Regions from separate parts of the Homo sapiens genome. Here regions 2 and 3 are each linked to region 1. The links are contacts of gene promoters, found by promoter capture Hi-C in blood cells and fetal thymus (Javierre and others, 2016). All regions are on one chromosome and are shown on one strand. Each heading gives the region's core, a stretch centred on a gene start or on the middle of the fragment in contact. The rest is flanking DNA. Distances are from core to core; before and after follow the strand shown. Region 1 holds the start of RNASEH1 (ribonuclease H1). Region 2 overlaps TRAPPC12 (trafficking protein particle complex subunit 12). Region 3 overlaps EIPR1 (EARP complex and GARP complex interacting protein 1).

Region 1 (2,736 bases), core at 186-2,685:
CTCATTCCTGGAAAAGATGTGCAATGTTATTTCCTTCTTCCTTCTCTAACTTATCCCCTTTTTTATTGAGATTCTTAAGGTTGGAAATACAGTTGTCCCTTGGTATCTGAGGGAGACTGATTCCAGGAAGTCCTCCACCCCATCACAGATACCAACATCAGAGGATGCTTAAGTCCTTTGCATAAAATGGTGTATTTGCAAATAACCCACACACATCTTCTTGCATGCTTTAAATCATCTCTAGTTTATAATACCTAATACAATCTATATAGTTGTATTGTCTTTTTATGCGTATTTTAAAACTGTATTCTATTTTAATTTTTTCCAAATATTTTTGATCTATGGTTAGCTGAAACTGAGGATGCAAACTGGATATAGAGGACCAATTTTTGCGTGAAAAGGGCAGAGTCGCACCTTATAGTTTTATCCTGCACGTCAGACTCTACACCTGTGTTCTACTGTATGCCAGCCAGCCAGCACACCAGCACCATAAGGCTTTCGTCAAACTCAAAGCATAACAAAATACTGCGGTCTTTGAAAAAAATATTAACCATTTCTTTACAACAAAAAGGTCAACTTCTGAGATGCTTCTTCCTCAATACTGTAGCTGCCGTGCATGGGGAAACACAGGTAACGAACTTTGGTATCTTGTAGTGGGAAGAGTTCTGGTGGTACAGTCAGAACAGCTGGGCTCAAGTCCTTTCTCTGTCAGTTACATGCCCTGGGAACTTCCTGACCCCAAGAACTATACCTGAAAGTGAGAATAATCCCTCTCACCTCCAAGGGTTGTTACAAGGATCCAACTGCAAATACTGGCTTATTAGAATTTGCCTTTTTTAAAAGGGAAGATTAGGTACTGAGTTCCAATCCCAATTTAGCTGGTACGGAAAGTCTTCTGGTAACGGGGGTTCGTTCTGATTACGTGTCACTTTTTGTTGCACTTTAACTGCAACAAAGATGGAGGATTAAACACAGGGTTTATTAGGCCACCCCTAACCTTTACGCGACGTTTCTGATATTTCAAACAAGTCTTCGGTGCGTTCCAGTCCCAGGCCATGAGCCTCCTGGAACCCCGCCGGCCGAGCAGGAAAACGAGGCGGTCCCCCGACCACCCACAGCCACAGCGCGCGGCACAGACTCGGACCGCCAGGCTCCCGCCGCCGGGGTTAGCCGGGCTCCGGCCTCCCTCGACCCCGATGCCGGCAGGGAGGCGCCTCGGCGGGCGGGCCACTCACCAGGTCAGAAAGACCCCGGTCTTGCGGCCCCTCCTCACGGCATAGAACATCCCGAACCCGCGAGAGCCGCGGCGGCAGGGCAAGGCGGCCAAGGCGACTCTGTGGGCCAGGAACAGAAGCCAGCTCATCGCTCACTCCCGGCACCGGGAAGCATTTCGACTCCCGGCCCAGCGTGGGCGCGAGCCGCCGGCGCTCAACACCGCACTTCCGTCACCGGCGCGGGAAGATGACGCACGTCTGGGCGGAGTCCTGATGAGGGCCGGGGCCTAGGGAGGGGCGGTGTCGTAGGGCGGAGCCCGGAGCTCGGCCCCTGACGAGCCCGAACTCGTCAACTTCCTGTCGGTACTTGAAGAAGCGGAGCCAGGGCTGAGATCCCGAAGGCGGGCGAGGTCTGGGATGGGGCGGGGCCTATGGGAGCGGGGCTGAAGCCCTGGGCCCGGCAGAGGAAGGTCGAGATGGACCATGTTGGGCCCCTTCTCTCCCCGCCCCCAGGCCGCAGTTCGGGGGCCACGCCCCGGCGTGCTCGGGTCACCGCGGGAAGCCCTTGAACCCCCTGGCGCCCGGCACCCACGTGCGGTAACCGCGGCTCCTCGAGAGCTCCAGGGATGCGGATCTACAGTAAGGGCTGTGGCCAGATGAATGAATGCACATTTTTTAGTGGGCAGAAAGATGTTAGAATTCATGAATTAGAATAAGCACAAAGGAGGGCGAGAGGGGAGGCCGTGGAAGCCGCATTCCTCCCCTTGCCTTGGGCGCCCACCCCCGAAGGGGCGCGTCCCCTCCCTGCTCCACTGCACGTGGGTGTTTAACCAGGGGATATCCAGTGCCTCAAGCACCACGACCCGGGAGAAAACTGAGTTGAGAAGGTAACTTTTAGAATTCTCCCCATTTGACCTTTTGCTCTGTAAGCAAATCAAGTAATTTTAAAAGTGTTCATGGGTTGGAGGGGCGTGGTGGCTTACGCCTGTAATCTCAGCACTTTGGGAGGCCAAGGCGGGTGGATCACCAGGTCAGGAGATCGAGACCATCCTGGCCAATATGATGAAACCCTGTCTCTACTAAAAATACAAAAATTAGCCGGGCGTGGTCGCCTGCGCCTGTAATCCCAGCTACTCAGGAGGCTGAAGCAGGAGAGGCGCTCGAACTCGAGAGGTGGAGGTTGCATCTGGGCGACAGAGCGTGATTCCGTCTCAAAAAAAAAAAAAAAGTCTCCATTGGCAAACATTGTTATTCGAATTATTTTTAAACCACTTTTCTTTAATTTTCTTAAGGTCTTCTAACAAGCCTTTTGCACACCTGCCATGTATTTTGTCAGGCCTTGGGGATGAAGGTGAGAAATTCGAGAATCCCCGGAGATAACACATCAGCAAATAGTGCGCAGGCAGAACAAGCTGTTGGAGGTGAGAGACACAGAGCAGAGAAGCACCCGCACCTGGAGAGTCAGGAGGGCCTCACATCAGAACGCCTGAGCAAATACAGTTTTGAAGGATACTAATTTTTT
Region 2 (2,787 bases), core at 127-2,626, 170 kb before region 1:
TGTCTCTGTATCCTGTCCCCCCAAGATGGCTTTCATGTTCTGCTCCATGTTTCTTCCCTTCTCTCTCGGGGTCTTTGTCCTCTCTGCTGTAAAATTCCTTTAACATCTGTGGGTCTGGCCTTTAGCACTTTCTTTCAAACCCTCTGTTGCTTGCCTTGCCGTTTGCTTCTCCCTCTGACTGTAACTCAGAGGAAATCTGAAGGTTGCCACAGGAAAGACTTAACCTATTGCTTCCCAACTGGGTGCTGCAGTCCAACGGTCTTAGGTACATTTGGAAAGGGGGAGAGGTGTTTCACTTTGGTTGACAAAAGGGCTGGGGTGAGCATATGACATTTAGTGAGTAGGGCTAAGAGTACTCAGTACCTTGCAGCGAGCTCAAAGCTTTCAAGGAATGGAAAACACCTGTTCCTCAAAAAAGCTTAAAGGTCTCTGGTCCTGTCCAGTTTCTCCTTTTATGATGAGGAAACAGATCCGAATGACTTGTGTGTTCACCAGCAAGCCTGCCATGTCCCAGGCATCCTCTCTCCTGACACAAAGGAAGGTGTAATGCCTACCCGCCAGCCCAGACCAGGACAGACGGCCTAGACAAGGGAAGGCAGACCTGCAAATGGATAATTTCAGTGTCCTGTGGCTCAGTAGAGATCCAGGCAGAGTCCCATGGGCGTGTTTACCCTAGATAATGCAGCCACAACACTGCAGAGCCAGTGCCAGAACACAGGTCCTCTTTGCCTTAGTTCTGGCCTCTTTGTCTTATGTTGTATTTCTCCCTACCATAGAAAATGACTAATTGTATTTCTCTCAGAAGGATCTCTGTTTAAGTCAAAGAACTAGAAACAGCACTAATTATCAGGGAAATGCAAATCAAAATCACAATGAGATATCATGGCTGTTAACCGAAAACTCTGGAGACAGCAAGAGTTGGTGAGGGTGTGGAGAAAGGGACCCTTGTGCACTGTTGGTGGGAATGTAAATTAATACAGCCATTATGGAAAACATGGAGGTGCCCGAAAAAGTTAAAAATGGAGCTACCATATGATCTAACAGTCCCCCATTCTGGGTATGTATCCAAAGGAATTGAAATCGGGATCTCAGAGAGATGCCTGCGCTCCATGCTCACTGCAGAATTATACAGTAGCCCAGATAGGGAATCAACCTAAGTGCCTATCGACAGGTGAGAGGACAGAGAAAATTTGGTATGTAGTGGCTCACGCCCATAATCCCAACTTCTCAGGAGGCTGAGGCAGGAGGCTCACTTGAGCCATGGTGTTCAAAGCTGCAATGAGCTATGATGGCACCACTGCACTCCAGCATGGATAACAGAGTAAGACCTGTCTCTTTTTAAAAAAAAAAATGTTTTTAAAGAAAAGAAAATATACACAATGGAATTCTATTTAGTCCTTAAAAAACAAGGGGAAACCTTGCCATTTGTGACTATATGCATGCACCTGGTGGACATTAGGTTAAGTGAAATAAGCCAGACACAAAATGATGAATACCACGTGATCTCATTTACATGTGGAATCTACAGAAGTCAGACTCATAGAAGCTGGGGCCTGGGGGTGTGAGGGGCATGGGGAGATGTTACTCAAAGGGTACAGAGCTTCATTTATGCAAGAAGAAGGAATGCTGGGGATGGAATGTACATTTAACATGGTGACTATAGTTAGTAATACTGCGTTGTTTACTTGAAATTTGATGAGAGCAGATTTTAAGTGTCCTCACCACCCTCACACATATACACACACACACAGTAACTATGGGTAGTGACGGTTGTGTTAATTATTTCGACTTTGGAATTCAGTACACAATGTCTATTTATAACAAATGATCATATATACCTTGAATATATATAATTTGTATTTGTCAACTAAATATTCTAAAATTTAAAAATATGCCTTTTCTATTTACCCACATTTAAAAAAAAAAAAAAAGAACTGGAAATCAAATGGCTTAACTTTAGTGTTCCATAAAGAGTGAGTAGCTCAGTCTTCTCCAGGGTCCCAGAAGTTGCCTGATACGTAGACATATCCCTGATCAGTATGTGAGCTTAGGAAGAGCCTTGAATTAGAAGAATTGGTTTCAAATTGTTGGTTTGCCAATAACCTGTGTAACCTAAGGGAATTCATTGAACATCTGTGGCTCTATTTTCTTCTCTGTAAAATGAAAGGTTTTGGTAAGTCTGTCAGTTACGCTGTAGGTTCAGCTGCATTAACAAAGAAAGCCAAAGGTATGGTGGCTGGAATAGGATACATGTTTATTTCCAGGTGGTAGAACACTTTGGAGATATGTGGGCCAGCACTGTGGATTGACTCTACCTTCCTCAACCAAGTCCAGGAAGCTTTTTCCCATTGCTGTCTTCCAGCCATCTGGAAGAGGGAGAGGCTGGAGAGCTCTGCAGTATTCCTTTTATGATACGTCATCTGGAAGACAGTGTGTCCACTCACATCCCACTACCTAGGGTTTAGTCACTTGGCCACACCAAGATGCAAGGAAGGCTGAAAATAGTCTTTAGGTAGGCGACCATGTGCTCAGGCAAAACCAAAGTTCTGTTACTAGAAGAAGGGGAGGGCCGGGCATGGTGGCTCACACCTGTAATCCCAGCACTTTGGGAGTCCGAGGTGGGTGGATCATGAGGTCAGGAGATCGAGACCACCCTGGCTAACACGGTGAAACCCCATCTCTACTAAAAATACAAAAAACAGCCGGACGTGGTGGTGCACGCCTGTAGTCCCAGCTACTTGCGAGGCTGAGGCAGGAGAATCACGTGAACCCAGGAAGCAGAGGTTG
Region 3 (2,906 bases), core at 209-2,708, 210 kb before region 1:
GAACTCAGGACACGAATATCTGTTCAGGTTTTGTGTACCCAGCACATAAAAAAGAGGAATTAAAGAGTTCTGTTATTCTATGAAGTAAGCATTTGTTGAGTGGATGAATGAATGAACAGCTCAACAATGTCACATGCCTTTACCAGAAACAGAAAGACAAAACCAGCAAGTCAAAAACACAGCTTCATACCTACCATACGGATTCACACACAGACAACTGCAGGCAAGTGTGGAAATACATGAGGTATGTAATAAAACATACTGTTGACTCAAAAAAATAAGATCCTGGCAAACTAATCTGAGTAATTATCAGAACTCTTCAATTTAGAAGAAAGGAGACAGAAAAACTGGAAAGCTTCTTTAAAATAATTAATTGAATGTTACTTCGTTCCAAAAAAAAAAAAAAAAACAAATTAAGGTAGATTAAAACACTTTCTGTCATTTTGGGCGATTTTTTTTTTTTTAGACAGAGTCTCGCTCTGTCACCCAGCCTGGAGTGCAGTGGTGCGATCTCGGCTCACTGCAACCTCCATCTTCCCAGTTGTCAAGTGATTCTCATGCCTCAGCCTTCCAAGTAGCTGGGATTACAGGTGCGTGCCACCACACCCAGCTAATTTTTGTATTTTTAGTAGAGACAGGGTTTCACCATGTTGGCCAGGCTGGTCTTGAACTCTTCATCTCAAGTGATCCACCCGCCTTGGCCTCCTGAAGTGCTGGGATTACATGCGTGAGCGACCACACCTGGCCTCTTCTTATTTCTTCTATTTTGATAACTTTGGTACCAATGGTTCTTCATTAATGTCATTACCAAATGGAAATGCCATTACTACATTCTGGCTAAGAGCAGGTACACAGTAATTTACTCATAACTATCATGCTTTCCATGGCCCCATTTTGTGTTGAATTCCTGGGTTTCTGCTGACTTCTGCTTTCTGAAGCTGCATTTGGAAGGCAGACTGGCGTGCCTCCCATCCTATCTCTGTGCCACTATCTCCCATGTGGGTTTTACTCCCCAACTCCCCTGTAGGCACCATCCCTGAAACCACAGGCCATCTTCATGGTGGGTCCTCCTTCCTTTTCAGGTGGCCACTGGTAACTATTTTTATAAATAAGTAATTCCCTTCTTATATTTTTTCCAGTAGAAAAGTAACACACATACATACATACACATTCGGAAAACAAAACATTAGAAAGAAAAGAATTTTACATCCTGAATAGATGTTGCCCCCACCTCATCCCAATTTGAGGTTTTGCTTTCTCAGGTTTCAGTTACCTGTGGTCAAGTGTAACACAAAAATATTAAATGAAAAATTCCAGAAATAAGCAATTCATAAGTCTAAATCACATACCATTCTGAGTAGTGTGGTGAAGTCTGGAGCCATCCCACTCCATCCCACCCGAAACGTGAGTCATCCCTTTGATCAGCATATCCATGCTACAGAAGCTACCTGCCCCTGAGCCACCCACACTGTCTGTTCCGGACACCTTTGATCAGCATATCCATGCTACAGAAGCGACCTGCCCCTGAGCCACCCACACTGTCTGTTCCGGACACCTTTGATCAGCATATCCATGCTACAGAAGCGACCTGCCCCTGAGCCACCCACACTGTCTGTTCCGGACACCTTTGATCAGCATATCCATGCTACAGAAGCGACCTGCCCCTGAGCCATCCATACTGTCTGTTCCCGACACCTTTGATCAGCATATCCATGCTACAGAAGCGACCTGCCCCTGAGCCACCCACACTGTCTGTTCCGGACACCTTTGATCAGCATATCCATGCTACAGAAGCTACCTGCCCCTGAGCCATCCACACTGTCTGTTCCCGACACCTTTGATCAGCATATCCATGCTACAGAAGCTACCTGCCCCTGAGCCAACCACACTGTCTGTTCCCGACACCTTTGATCAGCATATCCATGCTACAGAAGCTACCTGCCCCTGAGCCACCCACACTGTCTGTTCCTGACATCCAACCATCAACACCTTATGGCTTGATGATCCAGATCACCCAAAACAGATACTCCTGCTGTTGACATATCCTCTGAAGGTCAGTAATAGCCTAACGCTACATCACAATGCCTATGTCATTCCCCTCACTTCATCTCATCACACAGGCCTTATATTATTGCACATCTTCTCAAGAAAAAGGATGAGTGGCTGGGCGCAGTGGCTCACGCCTGTAATCCCAACACTTTGGGAGGCTGAGGCCAGCAGATAACCTGAGGTCAGGAGTTTGAGACCAGCCTGGCCAACGTGGTGAAACCCCGTCTCTACTAAAAATACAAAAATTAGCTGGGCGTGGTGGTGCATGCCTGTAATCCCAGCCACTCAGGAGGCTGAGGCAGGAGAATCACTTCAACCTGGGAGGCGGAGGTTGCAGTGAGCTGAGATCGTGCCATTGCACTCTAGCCTGGGCAACAGAGTGAAACTCTGTCTCAAAAAAACAAAAACCAGAAGAAGGGTGAGTATAGTACAGTAAGGTGTTCTGACAGACAGAGACCATATTCATATAACTTTCATAACTAATAATCATTGTGTTTTTATTAGTTATGTTGTTAAGCTTTTGTTGTGCCTAACTTATACCTTAAACTTTACCTATATGTAAGTATAGGAAAAAGCATGATATGTTTAGGGTTCAGTACTCACCAAGGTTTCCTGGCATCCGCTGGGTGGTCTTGGAACACATCCCCTGTGAAAAGCATCTGAAGATAACCCTTGGCTCAATTTTTAGTCCTTTTTGGCCTATTTCCTTCCAGTCTTTATTCTAAGAAGAGATTCAATTGTGCACTTTGCTTTTTTACACCACGTTGATCATACTGTAAGCACAATTTTAACATCCCACCAAATCATCTAACGATTCTTAAGTTGTCATGTTTCTTAGGAGTCTATAACTTTTAATG

What was found. Contacts are between HindIII fragments. The CHiCAGO score rates a contact against its expected background, and 5 or more counts as called.
Region 2: a fragment that was not itself captured here is called in contact with the fragment with the promoter of RNASEH1 in region 1 in 3 of 17 cell types (neutrophils, naive CD8 T cells and total CD8 T cells); the score reaches 9.2 in neutrophils.
Region 3: a fragment that was not itself captured here is called in contact with the fragment with the promoter of RNASEH1 in region 1 in 1 of 17 cell types (neutrophils); the score reaches 5.0 in neutrophils.

The regions. Positions count from the first base shown.
Region 1 is chr2:3,556,898-3,559,633 of GRCh38, forward strand. RNASEH1 (ribonuclease H1) reads right to left here and starts at 1,436. Exons shown (of 8, transcript NM_002936.6): 1 at 1,236-1,436; 2 at 1-7. The coding sequence starts at 1,363. It overlaps RNASEH1-DT (RNASEH1 divergent transcript), which reads left to right and starts at 1,489. Exons shown (of 3, transcript NR_038429.1): 1 at 1,489-2,101; 2 at 2,551-2,736. RefSeq lists silencers at 1,098-1,197, 1,568-1,887 and an enhancer at 1,288-1,537. The HindIII fragment of the contact is 22,605 bases long and covers 1-2,736 here.
Region 2 is chr2:3,391,774-3,394,560 of GRCh38, forward strand. All of the region lies in intron 2 of TRAPPC12 (trafficking protein particle complex subunit 12), which reads left to right. Among named protein-coding and RNA genes, the nearest start is that of TRAPPC12, 13 kb to the left of the region's middle. The HindIII fragment of the contact is 1,920 bases long and covers 417-2,336 here.
Region 3 is chr2:3,350,554-3,353,459 of GRCh38, forward strand. All of the region lies in intron 2 of EIPR1 (EARP complex and GARP complex interacting protein 1), which reads right to left. Among named protein-coding and RNA genes, the nearest start is that of EIPR1, 26 kb to the right of the region's middle. The HindIII fragment of the contact is 2,211 bases long and covers 354-2,564 here.